Linked DNA regions of Homo sapiens: regions 1 and 3 are each linked to region 2. The links are contacts of gene promoters, found by promoter capture Hi-C in human tissues and cell types (Jung and others, 2019). All regions are on one chromosome and are shown on one strand. Each heading gives the region's core, a stretch centred on a gene start or on the middle of the fragment in contact. The rest is flanking DNA. Distances are from core to core; before and after follow the strand shown.

Evidence for each region. The method cuts DNA at HindIII sites, captures the fragments that hold promoters and counts their contacts. A contact is called where the count stands out against the background at its distance.
Region 1: a fragment that was not itself captured here is called in contact with the fragment with the promoter of PKD2 in region 2 in 1 of the 25 tissues and cell types used here (H1 embryonic stem cells).
Region 3: a contact is called between a fragment that was not itself captured here and the fragment with the promoter of PKD2 in region 2, in 2 of the 25 tissues and cell types used here (H1 embryonic stem cells and hippocampus).

What each region holds. Positions count from the first base shown.
Region 1 is chr4:88,149,749-88,153,578 of GRCh38, forward strand. The region is part of intron 1 of ABCG2 (ATP binding cassette subfamily G member 2 (JR blood group)); the gene reads right to left. Among named protein-coding and RNA genes, the nearest start is that of ABCG2, 7.0 kb to the right of the region's middle. The HindIII fragment of the contact is 6,040 bases long and covers 1-3,830 here.
Region 2 is chr4:88,005,827-88,009,364 of GRCh38, forward strand. PKD2 (polycystin 2, transient receptor potential cation channel) reads left to right here and starts at 1,809. Exons shown (of 15, transcript NM_000297.4): 1 at 1,809-2,502. The coding sequence starts at 1,908. RefSeq lists silencers at 1,572-2,501, 2,552-2,691. The HindIII fragment of the contact is 15,667 bases long and covers 1-3,538 here.
Region 3 is chr4:88,208,562-88,212,083 of GRCh38, forward strand. It overlaps a transcript of ABCG2 not described here. Among named protein-coding and RNA genes, the nearest start is that of ABCG2, 52 kb to the left of the region's middle. The HindIII fragment of the contact is 7,328 bases long and covers 1-3,522 here.

The DNA of each region.
Region 1 (3,830 bases), core at 1,092-3,591, 140 kb after region 2:
GCTGAGGCAGGAGAACTGCTTGAACCTGGGAGGCAGAGGTTGCGGTGAGCTGAGCTCGCACCATTGCACTCCATTCTGGGCAACAAGAGCGAAACTCTGTCTCAAAAAATAATAATAATAATTCGATATTTACTAGACTTCTATTATCTGGCAGGCACTGGACTTACAGGAGTGAACAAAACAAAACAACAGATAAACATCCCGGCCCTCAGTGAGGTTACATATGAAAAATATCAGTCAACAGTGCTACGGAGAAAAAAAATTAAAGCAAAAGAGGAAGGGTGGGCCAGAAATGGTGGCTCACGCCTGTAATCCCAGCACTTTGGGAGGCCGAGGTGGGTGGATTGCTTGAGGCCCGGAATTTGGAGACCAGCCTGGACAATATGGTGAAATCCTTATCTCTATTAAACATACAAAAATTATCCGGGTGTGGTGGCGCATACCTGTAATTCCTGCTACTTGGGAGACTGAGGCACAAGAATTGCTTGAACCCGGGAGGCAGAGATTGCAGTGAGCCAAGGTCACACCAATGCACTCCAACCTGGGCAACAGAGGTGGTCACGGAAGGCCTTTCCAGTGAGGCCCTCAAGCAGAGCTCTGAGGGTGGCCTTCTGGAGGAGCAGTATATGTCCAAGTGCTGGTCGAAGGAACAGCAAAGAGGCCAGTGAGGCTGAAGCAGAGTGAGGGAGGATAAGAGAGCAGGAACTCGGGTTGTATCTACCACTGACCACAGGAAGGACTTTGGCTTTGATCTGAATGGCACTGGAAGGCACAGGAAAGTTCTGAGTGAAGAAATGATATCTATATTTAAAGCAGGAGTGTCCAATCTTTTGGCTTCCCTGGGCCACACTGGAAGAAGAATTGTCTTGGGCCACATATAAAACACACTAACATTAACAACAGCTGATGAGCTAAATTAAAAACAAAAATCACATAATGTTTTAAGAAAGTTTACTAATTTGTGTTGGGCTTCATTCAAAGCCATCTTGGGCCACATGCACGTTGGACAAGCTTGGTTTAAAGGATCACTCTGACTTTGGTCATGGGTAGGGACAATGCAGGGAGACCACATAAGAGTCCACCATAATAATATCAAGAGCCAAGATGAGGACACTGTCCTGCACCCCTCCCTCCATAGCCTATGAGAGCTCCCTGAAACCTATTATCTGTGCATGTTCTGCAAAATCGCCTGCCCCAAACAATTCCATTTCCTGACCTCCTCTTACACTGCCCAAACTGGGAAAACAAGGTCAAAAATAAATGACAGTGGTTCAGCTTCAGGCCCACAGGAAGTGAATAACTCATTTACATTTAAGAGGGGACTGACTGAGAAGCCCCTATGAATTTAAATAAAAGGAGTAGTGACTGGGGCTAGAAGACATAGGGAGGACAGCGGCAGAAGCTCTGGGAAAGTCATCACCCTTTCTCTTCTCCCTTTGCAAGGTTGACTCCACCAAATTGGCACTGTGGGAAGATTAGCAGCAGTGAGGTGGGTCATTAGAACATTTTGGGATCCTAAGTCCCCAGGGGGAAACAAAATCAAGTTGAGTGTGAGTTAGATTTACCCAAAACCACACAGCATTGTGCCTACAACCCAGTCCTTGTTCTCCGTGAGTCTAGTACATGTCAACTACATGAAGATCAATATCCCTGCTCCCTTCCAGTTTATAATTCAATCATCGGAATTGCAGTAAAAATTATGAACAGAGGCTGGGTGCAGTGGCTCATGCCTGTAATCCCAGCACTTTGGGAGGCCGAGGCAGGTGGATCACGAGGTCAGGAGATCAAGACCATCCTGGCTAACACGGTGAAACCCCATCTCTACTAAAAATACAAAAAAGTAGCTGGGCGTGGTGGAGGGGCGCCGGTAGTCCCAGCTGCTGGGGAGGCTGAGGCAGGAGAATGGCGTGAACCCGGGAGGTGGAGCTTGCAGTGAGCCGAGATGGCGCCACTGCACTCCAGCCTGGGCGACAGAGTGAGACTCCATCTCAAAAAAAAAAAAAAAGAATTATTAACAGAAAATTAAATGTGAGCAGCGGCATTACTTCTCAAAATTCTGAGACCTACAATAAAAAACATCATGATCCAGTATACAAAGATATAAAAGAAGGAGCATGTAATGTGTGTGTACTCCAAAATCATAGAAGGGCTCATTAATTATTGCAAGGGATCCTCTCTCTAATCCACGGGTACAGTTACCATCTCAGACCAAATAATGTCTCATCATAAACACAGTACTTCTTCATTGCTAGTATGACTAACATAAATATGGGTCTCAAATCCTTTTCTCACTGTGAATTCAATCAACAGATACCAAAATTATAATATTAGGATGTAGTTTAAGCTACTCAGCTAATAAAATGATCCTGGTTTCTTACCAGAGCCTAATAGATAGAAGCTCACATATGCATTATTTGTTTTGGAAGCACTGGCAGGGTTTCATTTGAGAAAAAAATGGGAGCTTTAAAAAATTACTAAATACTACCAATTTTACTTCTTTCCCATAAGAGACTGAATCCAAGTTGGCAAATACAGTCAGGTCCTCTATAATGTTTAAACTTTAAGGCAATATGAATTTTCACTCGCGTCCGTGTGAAGAGACCACCAAACAGGCTTCGTGTGAGCAATAAAGCTTTTTAATCACCTGGATGCAGGCGGGCTGAGTCCGAAAAGAAAGTCAGCAAAGGGAGATAGGGATGGGGCCATTTCATAAGATTTGGGTAGGTAAAGGGTAAAGGGGGTTTGTTCTCTGGTGGGCAGGGGTGGGGCGTCACAGGGTGCTCAGCGGGGGAGCTTTTGAGCCAGAATGAGCCAGGAGAAGGAATTTCACAAGGTAATGTCATCAGTTAAGGCAGGAACAGGCCATTTTCAGTTCTTTTGTGGTGGAATGTCATCAGTTAAGGCAGGAACCAACCATCTGGATGTATATGTGCAGGTCACAGGGGATATGATGGCTTAGCTTGGGCTCAGAGGCCTGACATTCCTGTCTTCTTATATTAATAAGAAAAATAAAACAAAATAGTGGTAAAGTGTTGGGGTGGTGAAAATTTTTGGGGGGTGGTATGGAGAGAGAATGGGTGATGTTTCTCAGGGCTGCTTCAAGTGGGATTAGGGGCGGCGTGGGAACCTAAAGTGGGAGAGATTAAGCTGAAGGAAGATTTTGTGGTAAGGGGTGATATTGTGGGGTTGTTAGAAGAAACAATTGTCCTATATAAGTATTGGTGATGGCCTGGATACAATTTTGTATGAATTGAAAAAAGAACGGAATAAGACAAGGAGAAAAACAGGTATTAAAGGACTAAGAATTGGGAGGACCCAGGACATCCAATTAGAGAGTGCCTAAGGAGGTTCAGCATAGCCCTGCCAGCAAAGATGATTTATTTACTTTAAGAGTTGAGAGTGGCGGTTTGGGGATAGCACCAGGAGATATCAGCTGTGGTGGCTTGGAGAAACAGTGTAAACCGGCAGTGTAAACAAGAGCGGGCATGTATGAGTAGTTGAGAATGGTGAATAGGAGTATGACTAGACAGAAGATAGTAGGGATGACAAGTTTTTGGGGGCGCAGTCCAAGTTGGTCTGGTGTCTGGAATGAGACTGGGGCCTAATAAAAAGGAGCATCTATACAGGAGCTCAAATGGGCTGTATTTTGTCGCATTCCGAAGACAGGCCCGAATTCTGAGAAGGGCAAGTGGTAAAAGTATTATCCAGTCCTTTTTAAGTTGGTGGCTGAGCTTGGTGAGGTGTGTTTTTAAAAGACCAGTAGTCCGTTCTACCTTTCCTGAAGATTGAGGATGGTAAGGGATATAAATGTTTCACTGAATACCAAGAGC
Region 2 (3,538 bases), core at 559-3,058:
ATTAAGAGCTGTTAAAGCTAAATTGTGTCCCCCCAAAAATTTCTGTGTTGAAGTCCTAACCCCCATTACCTCAGAACATGACCATACTTGGAGACAGGGTCTTTACAGAAGTAATGAAGTGAAAACAAGGTCATGAGGGTAGGCCCTAATCCAATATGATGTATAAGAATAGACAATTAGGACACAGACGCATACAGAGGGAAGAGGGAAGACGGCGTGAGGACACAAAAGCGGGGCCATCTGCAAGCCAAGGAGAGAGGCCTCAGAAGAAACCAACTCTGCCAACACCTCGTGAGAAAATACAATTTTTCTTTTCTTTTTCCTTCCTTCCTTCTTTTTTTCTTTCTTCTCTCTCTCTCTTTCTTTCTTTATGAGACAGAGTCTCACTCTGTCACTTGGAGTGCAGTGGCCCGATCTTGGCTCACTACATCCTCTGCCTCCCGGGCTCAAGCGATCCTCCCACCTCAGCGTCCCTAATAGCTGGGACCAAAGGCACACACCGCAAAGCCTGGCTAATTTTTGTATTTTTTGTAGAGACAAGGTGAGCAAATAAATTTCTGTTAAGCCACCCAGTCTCTGGTACTTTGTTATGGCAGCCCTAACAAACAAATACAGGAGCAGATTATGAGAATTTACTAAACCAAACCACAGAAATTAAATTTTATCCTTTCAGCTGCCAGAAGCCCACAGAGGTGTCTAAGCATCAACGTGACAAATAAGCAGCTTTGGTTCTGCAATATAACCTGGAAATAGTGAGGACACCGACGTGGAGAATAGAGATGGGAGTTGACAGGGATCAATTGTTCTAATGCGGAATAATGCAAGACATAAGATCAAGCCAGCAGGAGTGAGAAACAGAGATCATATCAGGGTGATATCTGTGGGGCAAAAGTAACAAGAAGATAAGGTGTAGGCGGTGGAGGGTAAACCGCGAGGCTTCCATGAAGAAGAGTGGCCTGGGAAGTGAGGAGGACAGCGAAGCCCCAAACCTCACCTTGGGATACGGGAAGTGAAGCAGGTTCCAGAGAAGGGGACAAGATAATGACTTAGGGTAGGATAAATTTCAGACAATTGCAGAGCATCACATTAGATGTGTTCAGAAGAGTGGAAATAAAGTTCTGTGCCTAGGCCCTCATGCAGGATTCTGTTGCTAGAAGTCAGTGCTGGCCGCAGGGAGACCGGAGATCACAGTGGAGGCACCAGCGATCCGAGAGTCCTATGACGAATCCCTGGGATCCCCACAATGTGTGGAGACAGAAGCCAACCAAAGAGCGAGAAAGCATCTCCAAACCAGCAGAATCAGGGGCAGGAGGCCCGCCAAATGCACAGCAAGTCAGCCTTGGTAGTTTGCAAATGGAAAGATTTCTTTGACCCGCTGGAGACTTCAGCTCAGGCTGGATGTCGCTAATTCACACCATCTCACCAAAAGGTTCTTTCCCTGCCCTTTGGTGAATCGAGGCAGAAGTGGCTGGTGGATAACTGGGACCCAAGAGTTATCTCAGCGTCGGGCAGGCATCGACAGCTCCAGGAGCCCTTTCCCTGCAGGCGGGCTGGCGGGTGAGCGATTCCCTCCCTTCCCAGGCCTTCCCGGGAATGGAACGTGGGCGCCCGCGCCCGGGCTCCGGTTCCACTTGGAACGCGGACTCGGGAGCCGCCGGGCGAGCGCGCAGACCGCGGGGGCGGCTCCCTCGCACCTCCCCGCTCAGCGCGCCGCGGCGGATGGGCGAGGCGGGGCGAGGCCAGAGGGAGGCGGGCCAAAGGGGCGGGCGAGAGGACGCGGGACCGCGGGGAGGTCGGGGGCGGGGAGCAGGCGGCGGCGGGCGCCGGGAAGAAAGGAACATGGCTCCTGAGGCGCACAGCGCCGAGCGCGGCGCCGCGCACCCGCGCGCCGGACGCCAGTGACCGCGATGGTGAACTCCAGTCGCGTGCAGCCTCAGCAGCCCGGGGACGCCAAGCGGCCGCCCGCGCCCCGCGCGCCGGACCCGGGCCGGCTGATGGCTGGCTGCGCGGCCGTGGGCGCCAGCCTCGCCGCCCCGGGCGGCCTCTGCGAGCAGCGGGGCCTGGAGATCGAGATGCAGCGCATCCGGCAGGCGGCCGCGCGGGACCCCCCGGCCGGAGCCGCGGCCTCCCCTTCTCCTCCGCTCTCGTCGTGCTCCCGGCAGGCGTGGAGCCGCGATAACCCCGGCTTCGAGGCCGAGGAGGAGGAGGAGGAGGTGGAAGGGGAAGAAGGCGGAATGGTGGTGGAGATGGACGTAGAGTGGCGCCCGGGCAGCCGGAGGTCGGCCGCCTCCTCGGCCGTGAGCTCCGTGGGCGCGCGGAGCCGGGGGCTTGGGGGCTACCACGGCGCGGGCCACCCGAGCGGGAGGCGGCGCCGGCGAGAGGACCAGGGCCCGCCGTGCCCCAGCCCAGTCGGCGGCGGGGACCCGCTGCATCGCCACCTCCCCCTGGAAGGGCAGCCGCCCCGAGTGGCCTGGGCGGAGAGGCTGGTTCGCGGGCTGCGAGGTAAGAGCGCGCGACCCGCAGCGGCAGATGCACGAACCAGAACGGCCGGCGCCGGCCGGGGCCATCGCCCGCTGCGGCAGCTCCCCGGGCTCCATCTCGCATCCCCTCTGCGTTCCGCCTCCCTTGGAAGCGCATTCCCCACCTCCGCTAGTGCTGCCCTATTTCCGGTACCCAGCGCGGAATTCCACTGCTCTTTTGTTGGTGCATATTTATTGGATACCTCCTTCTTCAGGATATGTCACCATAGTCTTTTTTACTGAAAATTAGTGAAAGCCTAATTAGAGTGAAAGAGTACATCTGGGTTTTGTTTTTTTTTTTCTTGTAGAGGAAAAAATGAACATTACTTGTGTAACTGATGGTAGTTGCAACTGCATATTTGCCAATGTCACAAAATCTAAAGGAAAATGTTATAGTCACCCGTGGTTTCCTTCTTGCCTGGACACTCCATTGTCCCGGGCTGAAAAGGGTAGCAGTACAGTGCATATAATGTCAAGTTGTGGGAGGAGTGTGGCAGATTGTCATTGGTGCATTTTTTTGGTGATGTGTGTGGTTGTTTTGAGGAGTGGGAGCTGTTAAGAACACCACAAATAGAATAAAATAATATCGTGAAGTTATTTGGCCGTTTCTAATTCTAGACATTTTTCTAAAAACAGTTGCAAAGGAAAGATTACATTGTTTTAAAAAAATTTGAAGTATGTTTTTAAATAACTAAATTAATGTTCTTTGAAATTCCACCAAAATGATGAAGTCACCAGATAGCAGCTGATAAATGTGTCTGAGCCCAGTGCGCCCAGCTCTACAAAAGGCAGAAGAGGAATTTTCAAATTTGCCAGTGCCCAGTAAGAGGACATGAATTTTCTAGTACCAGAGGAAATTCTCTTTTTACAAATTTTGTCAGAGGTATCCTTGGGAAAGTATTTCATTTGCTTTTACCCTCCAAATTATTTTAATCTATATTTTTAAGAGTTTCCATTCTCAGTTGAGTTTTTCTTGTTCTTCTCCTTCTGTCAGTTTTGAAAGTCTTGCACAAAAACAA
Region 3 (3,522 bases), core at 370-2,869, 200 kb after region 2:
CTTATCAGTTAACTGATAACTGGGGACACTGTGAAGCAACTTCCAGATGCTCCCTAAGAATCAAGCTCAAAAGCAGGGCTTTCTAGGGATAGCAGCCTCAAACAGATCTGCTCTGTTAACTTTTTTCTGCATACCAAGGTACTTCCATTTTTTAATTTAAAAAACTGAACTTTCCCAAGTGCTCAATCAACCCAGACAAAGCAAATAAATTGAATCCATAAATATGGCCAACCTAACTTATTTCAAGTGTCCCACTATTTTCTCCAAACTTGTGGTATTGCAACTTTAAATCAAAAGCCTAAATTACTTATTTAATTATAACATTTGAAATTGGACTGACAAAATTGGTCTTAACCAATTAACCTGGGAGGCGGAGGTTACAGTGAGGCGAGATCACACCACTGCACTCCAGCCTGGGTGACAGAGCGAGACTGTCTCAAAAAAAACAAAACAAAACAGTTCATACCTTGGCCAGGTGCAGTGGTTTAAGCCTATAATCTCAGCACCTTGGGAGGCCGAGGCAGTCGGATCACCTGAGGTCAGTTCAATACCAGCCTGGCCAACATGGCGAAACCCTGTCTCTACTAAAAATACAAAAATTAGCTAAGTGTGGTCGCACACACCTACAATTCTAGCTACTCAGGAGACTGAGGCACAAGAATCACTTGAACCAGGGAGGCAGAGCTTGCAGTGAGCAGAGATGGCACCACTGCACTCCAGCCTGGGCGACAGAGCGAGACTCCATCTCAAAAAAAAAAAAAAAAACAAAAAAGCAAACAAGAAACACCAAAAAAAACAAAATAAATAAAAACAAAATTCAGACCGGATGCGGTGGCTCACACTTATAATCCCAGCACTTTCAGAGGCTGAGGCAGATGGATCACCTGAGGTCAGGAGTTTGAGACCAGCCTGGCCAACATGGTGAAATCCCATCTCTACTAAAATACAAAAATTATCCAGGCGTGGTGGTGAGCGCCTGTAATCCCAGCTACTCAGGAGGCAGAAGAATCGCTTGAACCTGGGAGCCGGAGGTTGCAGTGAGCTGATGTCATGCCACTGCACTCCAGCCTGGCTGGGTGAGAGCAAGACTCTGTCTCAAAAAAAAACAAAAAACAAAACAAAAACAAAAAACAAAGTTCATACCTCTTTCTATAAGTAAAAAATAAAAATTTTAAGTGAAAGAAAATTTTTCAGTTTGATTAGCAGGGGTTGTGTTGGTGTTGGCAATGTTATATAAAATAATAAGTAATGATAAGTTTTAGATTCAAGCTACGTGGTAGTAGCAATATACTGTGCTTTTCCTTTGCCAAAGATAACCTAAAGATAAAACTAATAAACAGAATCTTCTCTGCTATTCACCATTTTCCCCAGTTGTCAGTTATTTTTGACTGAATACGTTTTTTGCTTTTGTACCCTAGTGGTAGATCACTCTTTGAATGCATCTTAAAGATGTGTCCTATAAAACAAAACAAAACAAAACACCCTAAGCATCCTGTATAAGACTATTACCTTGTGGGTATTCCTACAGGTGTAGAATGCTCATGCACATATAAGTTGGTAATAAAATGTTTTGATTGAATTAGATATAATTAGGTTAAAGATGTCAGTAATGTAAGTAATCCTACACACACACACACACACACACACACACACACACACATATACATATATACGTTTAAGACAGTGCCTCTCTATGTTGCCTAAGCTGGACTGGAACTCCTGAGCTCAAGCAACCTTCCCACCTCAGCCTCCAGTGGCTGGGACTGGAGGCAGGCACCATTGTGCCTGGCTAGTAATGCAATATTTTTGTGTTCGTTGAAGGAGAGTAAAATAAATTGTAAAATCTATTTGTAGTTTATTTTGAAATGCTCTCCCCAGCAGCCTTACCTTTGCCTTATTTTCTTGAGGTCCTATTTACATTCATCCCATTCAGTGAGGATGAAGGATGTTGTTCTAAAACAAAAAGAATGGTAGAAATAAGCCCCATATAGTTAAAAGTGTGCTGGTAGCTATAAATACATACTTTTTCTTTTCTTTTTTTTTTTCTAAGAGATGGGATCTTGCTCTGTTGCCCAGGCTGGAGTGCAGTGGTACAATCATAGCTCACTGCAGCCTCAAACTCCTAGGTTCAAGCAATTCTCCCACCTCAGCCCCTGAGTACCTGGGAATATAGGCACTTGCCACCATTAACTGGCTAATATTTTATAGAGACAGTCTTGCTTTGTTGCCCACACTGGTCTCGAACTCCTAGCTTCTTCCCAAAATGCTGGAATGACAGGCATAAGCCACCACACCTGACCCATACATACATTTTTTTCAAGGAATAACAGAAGCCAGAGTTGATTTTATTTGCATTTGTTAAGAAGAGGCGCAGATGCCATGTTCTGCCCCTGTATTCCCAGCTACTCAGGAGAATGAGGTGAGAGGATTTCTTGGGGCCAGGAACTCGAGGCTGTAGTGCCCTGTGACTGCACCAGGGATTAACCACTGCACTCTAGCTTGGGCAACACAGAGAGGCTTGGTCCCTAAAAAAATTAAAAAATAAAAAAAATATATATATATATGTAAAAGAAGAAGAGAGAGTAGTTTGGCTAATTAAGGAGAGGATGTGCTAAACAGGGGACTTAACAAAAGCCACTTTCATTGTGTATTTTAAAAATTATTTTATTTTAGATTCAGGGTTGCACGTGCTTGTTTGTTACATAAGCAGATTGCATACTGGTGGGGACTGAGCTTCTAGTGTACCCAATGTCCAAATAGTGAACATTGTACCTGATAGGTAATTGTTCAACCCCTGCCCCACCCCCCCCCACTTTTGGAGACCCCAGTGTCTGTTATTTCCATCATCATGTTTTCGTTTTAATTTTCTTTTTGAGATGGAGTCTCACTCTGTTGTCCAGGCTGGAGTGCAATGGCGCGATCTCCGCTCACTGCAACCTCCGCCTCCCAGGTTCAAGTGATTCTTCTGCCTCAGACACCTGAGTAGCTGGGACTACCGGAGTACACCACCACACCTGGGTAATTTTTTTGTATTTTAAGTAGAGACGGGGTTTCACTGTGTTAGCCAGGATGGGCTCGATCTCCTGACCACGTGATCCGCTTACCTTTGCCTTCTGAAGTGCTGGGATTACAGGCGTGAGCCACTGTGCCCGGCCGAGAACTCTTTACTTTCAAATGACCAAGATATTTTGGGGAATACAGCAATTCTCTTAACTTGAAGATACAGTCAAACCGGTACTGCACTAAAGGGAAAAACGGGATAAGCAATAAATAGAACTAGAGATGTGGGCCAGAGGGGAAAGTCTTTCTCAAGCCTCTCTTCCAGATAAAATCAAGTTTGGCCATTTTTGTCTTACCTGATTGCAGTCAAAAGCATTTCGAGTGATTTATGGGAATTAGAGCTTTTGGTGCACAGCTAGTTCATTCTTAAATTGCCCATGCTTACATAGTGTAGGAGAAGGTGTGAGTCTATGTCCCAATTTACACATACCGCCCCCAAATAATTATTAGTAGTGGCCTCTT